Linked DNA regions of Homo sapiens: region 1 is linked to region 2. The links are contacts of gene promoters, found by promoter capture Hi-C in human tissues and cell types (Jung and others, 2019). All regions are on one chromosome and are shown on one strand. The core of a region is centred on a gene start or on the middle of the fragment in contact, and the rest is flanking DNA. Distances in the headings are between cores, read along the strand shown.

Region 1 (4,673 bases), core at 1,121-3,620, 70 kb after region 2:
CAAGGTGACGCTGTCCACTCCTGCTTTGTAACCTCCTGCTGGGACCCCGCTCGGCTCTCTGAAAGCTGCGCCAATAGAAGCCTGGAGTAGAGGAGAGGGCAGTCAGGACTGGGAGGCAGGGAAGCCTTTAGGGGGTGACAGAGGACTGAGGAGGGAACAACCAAGGGCGGTCAGGGGAGTGACAACCGGGATCTGATGAAGAAAGAGGAGCCCAGAGATGCGGATGCTATGATCCTGTTCCAAACCAGTACTTCCTGGGGAAACCAGCAAGGCAGGAGAGCAGGCACCAGGGTGAGCAGTGGAGCAGGCACCAGGGTGATGGGCACGAGGGAGGCAAGGGGAGCCTGGCTGTGGCCGCTGATCTCAGGAAGTTCAGCATGGTCGGAGAAACCAGACCTGGGCTTCCTGTCTTCAGTTTATAAAGTGCTCTCTCACAAACGATCTAATCAGAGACCCCTCACAGCCCTGGGAGGAGCCTCATTTGACTGACAGAAACCAAGGAGCTGGAACACCTAGCCCTACCCCTAGCCCAACCCCTCCCCAGGAGCCAGTGGAGGGGCCGAGGTTAGAACACAACCTCCCTTCCCAGGACCCAACTCTCATCGTACCCTTTCTCCCCAAAGAAACTAGTGTAAGAGATCCATTGGTAAATCCCAGGACAGAAAGCGGGAGCAGTTGCCTCAGCTCGGCAGAGAAGGCTTCCTGAGGGAGGGCAGCCTGGTGCAAAGCAAGAACCGAGTAAGGCAGGGAACAGGGAGAAGCAGGTGTCAAGTGTGGAGGCAGCCATGAGCTCACGGATGGGGAAAAAGAGGGTAGGCAGTCTGGCTGGCTGTCTCTGGAAGGTCCCAAGGCCACATGGTGTTCACCTGCCTCCTCTCCTCTCCTCTCCAGATCTTTCTCCGGGGAGTCAACGAGCCCCTGGCCAACAACCCCAACCCCATAGTGGTGATTGCCCGGGTCGTTCCCAACTACAAGGAATTTAAGTGAGTGGGGCCCAGGTGGACCTGGGTGAGGAGGGCAGAGCAGAGGGCAGAGGAGGGGGTGAGGCTGTCATTGCTGCCATGGGCTGATTCCAGGACCTCCGGCAACCCCTCTACCCCTAAGGCCCTTCAAGCCTCTCCATTGGGTCTGAGGTCCCAGTAAGCTTCCTGCAGCAGACCATGCCTTTCTTTCCCCAGGGAGAGCCCAGGCCCCTGGAAAGGGGCAGCTCAGTCCTCTCCTGAGAGCAAGCTGGAGGGCAGGTGGTGGGGATGAGTGCCGATACCAGGCCTAACAGCTAGAGAGTGTGGGGAGGACAACAAGAGGGGTCCTCATTCCCTGCTCAGGGAACCTCAGCCCCTCCAACCTGCCTCCCTGCCTCACACCCACCACCTCCCCACTCCCCCTCCCACTCTAGCTCAGGGCCACAGGCTCCAGCCAGTGGTTGGCCCCAAAGGCCATCTTGGAACTTCACAGCCTTTAGCCCTGCCGGGCGGAGTCTCCTCCCTCCTCATCCTGGAGGTCTCCCTGGTCCCAGCCACAACTCATCCCCTCCTCCCCTAGACCTCCTTTTGAGTCTGTTGGAGTCACAGTCCTCAAGAGGAGATTCATACTTTGCCACACAGTGGGAAATTCCCCTATGAACGTGTGCTCTCTGCCACAGCACCGACTCCTGGGAGTCAGGGTCTGTCTTGGTCACTTCCAACTGGCCCTGATGGCCCAAGATGACTCCCCTACTTCTCTGTATCTCCTGTTGAGTTTTTATGACTTATGAAGCCCCCTTGCTTGTTGGAGGAAGGAAGATGATTGATGCACGCCCAGCCCAGTGGTCCCCACTTGTCGTGAGGTCCAGGCCCGAACTCGGCGGGATCCCTGCAACTCCCTTCTCTTGCATCAACCCAGAGTCTAAGCGGGGGGCCCTGGGCTGCCAGGCTCAGGTGCAGAGCCCAGAGCACTGACCCTGTCTCCCTGCCTCCCCAGGGTCAGCCAGGCTAACAGGGACCTGGCCTCTGTGGGGCTGCCCATCACCCCACTGTCCTTCCCTATCCCGTCCATGATGAACTTTGACGTGCCTCGCGTCAGCCAGAACGGATGCCCTCAGGTATGTCTCCTCCCCAGTGGTTCCAGCTTCCTGTAACTACCCCACACATTCACTGTTCACTCACTCAGTGAGTCAGTCAGCAGTTCCCTTGACTATCGAGTAAGAGTTGACTGAATCCCACGGCATACCCAGTGCTGTGCTCGCCTGTGCGGCAGAGAAACTGCCCTCCAGGAACTCTTGGTCTGGTGAAGATGGGAGTCACGTGGGTGAAAAAGTTGAACATCAACACAAGATAATGTATAATCTAATAACAAACTGGGAGGGCCTGTCAGGGCTATCACATCAGAGGAGAAGATACAAAAGGACAAATATATGATTCCACTTATATGGGATACCTAGAATAGGAAAATTCAGAGTCAGAATGTAGAACAGTGGCTACAGGGGCTGGGGAAAGGGAAGAATGGGGAGTTACAGGTCATAAGTACCTAGTTTCCGTTTCAAGTGATGAAAAGTCCTGGAAATAGATAGTGGTGATGGTTACACAACAATACGAACAAATGAATGCATTTAACATTACCGAACTGTACATTAAAAATGGCTACAATGGTGAATGTTGTGTTACGTATATTTTAACCCAGTAAAAAAATTTTTTTTGAGACAGAGCCTCGCTCTTGTCTCCCAGGCTGGAGTGCAGTGGCGCAGTCTTGGCTCACTGCAACCTCTGCCTCCCGGGTTCAAGCAATTCTCCTGCCTCAGCCTCTCGAGTAGCTGGGCTTATAGGCACATGCCACCATGCCTGGCTAATTTTTATCCTTTTAGTAGAGACAGGGTTTCACCATGTCGGCCAGGCTGGTCTCGAACTCCTGACCTCAGGTGATCCACCCGCTTTGGCCTCCCAAAAGGCTGGGATTACAGGCATGAGTCACTGCGCCCAGCGAAAAATTTTTTTTAATCAGAGGAGAGGGATGTAAAGCCTGGATTAGGGAAGGCAGTCTTGAATTTTTTTTTTTTTTTTTGAGACAGAGTCTTGCTCTTGTTGCCCAGGCTGGAGTGCAGTGGCACCATCTTGGCTCACTAGCAACCTCCGCCTCCCAGGTTCAAGCAATTCTCCTGCCTCAGCCTCCCAGGTAGCTGGGATTACTGGCACCCGCCACCATGCCCGGCTAATTTTTGTATTTTCAGTAGAGATGGAGTTTCACCATGTTGGCCAGGCTGGTCTCAAACTCCTGACCTTGTGACCTGTCCACCTCGGCCTCCCAAAGTGCTGGAATTACAGGCATGAGCCACTGCACTCAGCCGGCAGTCTTGAATTTTTAACAGAGGAAGGGTTGGTACAGGTTGGACACAGCAATAGCACAAGTGTGAGGTGGAGACAGGCAGGCTATGACCCATGTCAGGGCAGACAGGAGGGCTGTGTGTTTGAGTATGAGGTTGGGGGCGGGTGCACGCACAGAACATGGCTGGGTTCAGGGGAATAGCCAGATTGGTCTCTTCTCATGATCTGCGCTTCACTGCCAGCTTGCCCTACACGATGGTCCCAACATTCCTAGGGGCCTTGGGGGACAGAGGGATTTTTGGAGGTCCCTCCTATTGTCTGCCCACCAGTGCTTATGTCTGGCATAGCAAAAATAGAACAAGACACCCCTTTGGAGCCCAGGCTTCATTTAAAGGCAAAGACATTTGAAGAAGGCTCAGACATGGGGTAGAGTGATGGTGGTGGGGAGGAGTGGGACAAAGGGGGACCCTGGGGACAGAGGCTTCAAACCCAAACCAATCCTTTGCCTGATTTCCCTAGAGTTACCTCACACATGGCCCTGCATTTGCCCAGAAAATTAAGAACCAATCAGCAGGCTGTCCCAAGGGGCAAGAGGCACTGCCTGCTTTAATGAGTGTGCCCCCTCCCACCCCCAGGCTTTCTCTGGCTGCCTTTGCTGCCTAACTAGTCTGGGTAGGAGAGGTGCCACTCACTACAGAGACTTGTTCCCAGTGCCTTTTGCATGTGTGGGACCCGGTCCAGCAATGGCAGGACACCTGTTGAACATCACCCAACCCCATGGCAGCTGGGCCAGGTTGGGAATTTGCTGGCAGCTGGCACAGAGGTGCCCAGGTGCAGCAGTGAGAGAACAGGAGCAGGCTGCTGTGGTAAGGAGGGGTGGGGATTGCCCGGGCAGAGCCATACCTGGAGGGGCACCAGTCAGCAGCGTGAGCTCAGTCTTCACACAGACCCCTGCCCTGTTCCCTTTGAGCGTCAGTCCCCTCATCTCTACACTTGAGGGGGTGGGATTGGACTTGGTAATTTTAGGGCCTGCCCTCTCTGACATCTTGGGGGGCTGTGATTTCTCACCAACTGTCACTGTGCAAAAGCACTGTTTGACCTGGGTTTGACCCCAGCTCTGTAACTTACTGGCTGCATGACCTTTGGTAAGCTGCTCCTTTCTCCAGACTCATTGATTCCAATCTGTTAGGAGAACTCAAAGGATAATCTTTGCAAAGTGTCCAGGCCCAGGGTCCAAGGTAAATGGGTTCCACTCTTAACAGAGCTGTACCTCCCCTAGTGCCAGTGTCCCCTCTGAGGCCAGCCTCACCACTGCCCTTTTCACATCTGGCTCCAAGTAACAGAAACCCCAACTTGGATCGGCTTAAATACTAAGGA
Region 2 (4,170 bases), core at 1,489-3,988:
TCCACTAAAAATACAAAAAAAATTAGCTGGGCGTGGTGGCACGCACCTGTAATCCCAGCTACTCGGGAGGCTGAGGCAGGAGAATCACTTGAACTGGGGAAGCGGAGGTTGCAGTGAGCCAAGATCGCACCACTGCACTCCAACCCGGGCAACAAGAGCGAGACTCCATCTCAAAAAATAAATAAATAAAAGTTGGTTAGCATCTCTTTAGGCAAAGAAGGGGAGAGGCAGCTCCAGGTGGAGGGAAGTGCATGAGGAAGCAGAGAGGCAGGCGACAGGCAGCGTGGCTGGGGCTGGGCAGGCCTTCCAGTTTGATTGCAGCCCAGAGGTCAGGTGAGATGAGGTTACAGCAAGCATGGGAGGCCCCAGGAAGCCACTGAGGGTGTTTGAGCCATTGAATGTTCTGGATTTTAGGACATTTCTGTGGCTGACTCCACTGCCATCAGTGTTCATCCACCCCAACTCCAGCCTGAGAGTGCTGGGGCACTGGGCACTCCGGAGTTCTTCAAAGCTCTGATGCAACATGTCCCCAGGGTGTCTGACTCACACAGACAGAGGTGAACCCAAGTTCATTTCCTTGGGATTCCCCTGAGCTCCCAATTTTCTGCTCCCACTTTGAGGGCAGGGGGATGGCAGGCAGCTCAATTGGTTTGGCTAAGTAAGTAGATTCAAACAAATCTCTTTATTCTTATGGATGTCATGCCCTGCAGTGGGAGAAAGAAGCTGAATCTTCTAGATGTCACCCACATGAGGGACTGGACTCCCCATCACCCAGTGCCTGACATACACACAACTTTATTCTGAGACAACAGCTATAGACCACAGCTACATTTACAGGCACCTGGCCCCCAGCCAGTGCCCAGGCCCTGAGGCTCCCAAGGACACAGCTTCAGATTAGAGCCTTCACCTAGGTCAGAAACCATCCTCATGGGTTCCTGGGCCTGTCCTCATTCTGGTCTCTCGCAGGCCACACATACACAGCAGGATATGTGGAGCCCACAGGCTCTCGGTCAGTCAGGCAAGATGAGTGGGGAGCACGCCCTTGCTGACTGCAGGCTATTTTCCAGGTGGTCAGAACCCTGAGTCCTCCAAACAACAGCTCCTTCCCCGAGGCCTGGGTGGAGCCTCTGTCCCTGCTGGATGACCCAAGCCCAGCCAGGCCGCAGCCCCAGCCCCTGGGGAGGCACGCAAGGATTTTTCCTTCTCAAGTTTCAGGTTTTGATGGAGAACAGATGTGCACACATCTGGCTCGGCAACCCCCAGCCTCACCTTTCTACTTCTCCAAACCGTCAGACAGAGCAGGGAGATAAGGGATGGGGCCAGGCCTGGGAACAACAGGGGAGAACTGGCTCTGGGTCCTACACAGGCAAGACATCCTGGCAGGAGGTGGGGGACACAGAAGGGGCCCAGCTCCTCCACCAGGGTGCCCAGACTAAACCCCGGTAGAATGGACCCAGGCAAAGCAGCTGTGGCTGGGTTCTCAGGCCACCCTGGGGCGGGCTGCCTTCCTGCTCCCACCCTCACCTGGGCTGGCCTGAGCACTTCTGCTAAAGGGAATAGGCTCTCCTCATCCTCTGAGACCATCCAAAGACAACAAGGGTGCTTGTTTCCTCAGTGACTTCTCACCAGGCTTTCTCCCTTTGGTTCTCTGCCTTCCCCGAATCCCCCAGCCTGCCCAGAGAACTTGACACTTGGAAACACCACACCCAAATGCTCACCACAGAGACCAATAACCCCTTGAAGGGAGGTCTGCTTGCCTCAACTGCTCTCAGCAGCTTCTCCATCCTGGCTATGGGCCAGAATCACCCAGGGAGCCATCCCTGCAGATCTGAATCATCTGTATTTTTAACACGTCACACATCATACCTAAGGTGACCAGCCTTAGGTGTCTTAACAGCAGGGTGAGGGATGTTGTTCTCATGTAACAGAGGCAGAGACTGAATGAACCCCAGAGAGGCTGTGACTTGCCCAAGGTCACACAGCAAATGAGTGGCAGAGCCAGACCTAGCAGCCCCTGCCCAGGAGCTGCTCCCTGGCCAGTTGCAACCTCTGCCATCACCCCATTCTGATGGCTGACAGAGTGAGGTGGGGTGGTTCCACACTTACCCCTCTGGCTGGAGCTCCTCGCCCCCCTGGGGCTCATCGATGTACCAGCTGCCATAGGAGTAGTCCTCTGTGGCCCCGGGGGAGGTCTGGTTCCCTGCTGGCTGGGACGACATTCTCTGGCCCTTCTCCTTTGACCCCAGGCGAGAGAAAAAAAAAGCCACTACAGATGTGAAAAGAGGCTTAAAAGAGAAAAAAAAAGAAAGAAAGACGGAAAACCCAAACAAAGAAACATTTCTCTTTAATCCTGAAGGTTACTTTCTTACTTTTAGCTCTCTGGGAAAAGCCCGTCTGGGACTGAGGGCCTGAGCAAGCTGGCACGGGAAGAGGACAGGGCCTCTCGTGTCCCCTCCTCCCTTCCCGCCCATCGCACTGGTCCTGCAGAGATAGCTGTCCCCTTGGGGCCCCGGGGCTCCCGCTGGCGCATCTGTCTGACCAACCACCAGCAGGCGTGTGTTCAAAGGACCATTTTCAAAGAAGGCTTGTCCAGTCTGAGCTGCCTAAAGAGACGCCCCTTCCTTCCCCTTTCCCAAGCCCACCTAGACAGACCCACAGACACACCAGAAGGGAGGCCCAGGGAGGAAGGAGTTGCAGAGATGAAAGGGTAGGCAGCCCACGGCCAGCTCCGCACTGCCTGCCTGGGCCCTCCCAGCTGGGCTCCCTTGAGCCCCTCCCCCAGCCTCAGCCTGCCCCTTTCTGGCCCCTTTGGGCCTCGGTGATGGAAATACACCATAATCCTTGACAAAGCCCCCCTCCTGGGGGAGGAGGCCCCAGCACCATTGGCGGCCTGAGCCCTGCAAGGGTGTGGCCAGGAGCCACCCCCACCCCCGCACCTGACTTCACACACATACCTGCCTTCAGCGCCTGCCCCAGAGCTCCCAAGCCCCTGCCCGCCACATCTGCAGTGCCGCACACAGACAGGAGACCAGCATTACAGCAACAACCGAGTGAGACGGACCGCTGGGGCTGGGCTGGGGCGGAGGCAGGGAAGGGGAATCTGTCCGTTTCTTCTCCTAGGGTTTCCATGAAGGAGGCAACATGTGTCTCATTGGTAAACCCTTTTTGTTCCTACAAGTTGATTTCACAAGGAGATAACTCACCCCCACAAGGCGGAAATTAGCTCTTTAAACACAAACCAGACCCACGGGTAGGCAAGAGGAGCCCCGCCTGCCTCCTGCTCCTCCTGGAGTGAGGTTGAGGGTGAGCAAGGGAAGGTCTGGGCCAGGGAGGAGGGCTCCTCCGCATTCTCCCTCCCCAGGAGCAGGACCCTGCCCCAGCCTGGAGGAAGGGGCGAGAGGCAGAAGAAGGTAGAAAGCAGTTCTCAGGCCACTGTCCCTGGTGGAGGTTTAGGCCCCTAAAACTGTGAGGGTCTCTGTCCTTCCAATACCCTACAAGGGGCTTCGGCTTGGACCCTGTCAGCTAAGGCAGTCATTCAACAGCTTTTTTAAGAAGACATTATTCATTTAGTCTTTTAACTTAAATTTATTGAACACACACTATGTGCCAGCACTGTTCTGAGCCCTGAGGCAGGAGAGATGACAGTTCAGCGGGGACACAGCCAGATAACTAAATCCCCTCCAAAGTCTGAGGGTTACAAAGGGAATCACAGGTTGAGCTGGTCTGTACCATGGGAAACCAAATTTAGTCCAAGAGCATTTGGGGATGGGGGGAGATTCCTGAAGAAAAGAACCTTTCCGTGGTGATCTGAAGGGCAGGGGAAAGTCCGCTGAGCAGAGGGTGGCAGGCTCAGGATGGGGATGGGGGTGGGGGAAAGTGTGTTCCCCACAGAGGAAACAGCACGGGTGAAGTCTCAGAGTAGACAGGGCTTGAAATCCTGGAGGCTCTCTTTCAAATTCCCAAGCCTGCAGGGCAGGATTAGGGGCTGAGCACCCTGCTAGCCTGAGTTCCTCCCCCTTCTTCCCAAATGGCCCTTCTTGCAGGAAGAGGGCTCTGTTGCTCTCCACCATCCCACAGAGATATCAGCATCTGCTGACTCAGAGCTGAACCCGAGCTTTATTTGATGTAATGAGGAGCCCACACTGGCCCTTCTGATCCCAGGGATGCGGG

The links. Contacts are between HindIII fragments. The study calls those that stand out against the background at their distance.
Region 1: a contact is called between a fragment that was not itself captured here and the fragment with the promoter of STRA6 in region 2, in 2 of the 25 tissues and cell types used here (H1 embryonic stem cells and pancreas).

What each region holds. Positions count from the first base shown.
Region 1 is chr15:74,270,812-74,275,484 of GRCh38, forward strand. CCDC33 (coiled-coil domain containing 33) reads left to right here. Exons shown (of 19, transcript NM_025055.5): 6 at 892-983; 7 at 1,960-2,080. Among named protein-coding and RNA genes, the nearest start is that of CCDC33, 37 kb to the left of the region's middle. The HindIII fragment of the contact is 5,899 bases long and covers 1-4,673 here.
Region 2 is chr15:74,200,049-74,204,218 of GRCh38, forward strand. STRA6 (signaling receptor and transporter of retinol STRA6) reads right to left here and starts at 2,739. Exons shown (of 19, transcript NM_022369.4): 1 at 2,665-2,739; 2 at 2,107-2,234. The coding sequence starts at 2,219. It also overlaps a transcript of CCDC33 not described here. RefSeq lists enhancers at 1-473, 474-1,107, 541-600, 2,900-3,069, 3,011-3,644. The HindIII fragment of the contact is 11,640 bases long and covers 1,409-4,170 here.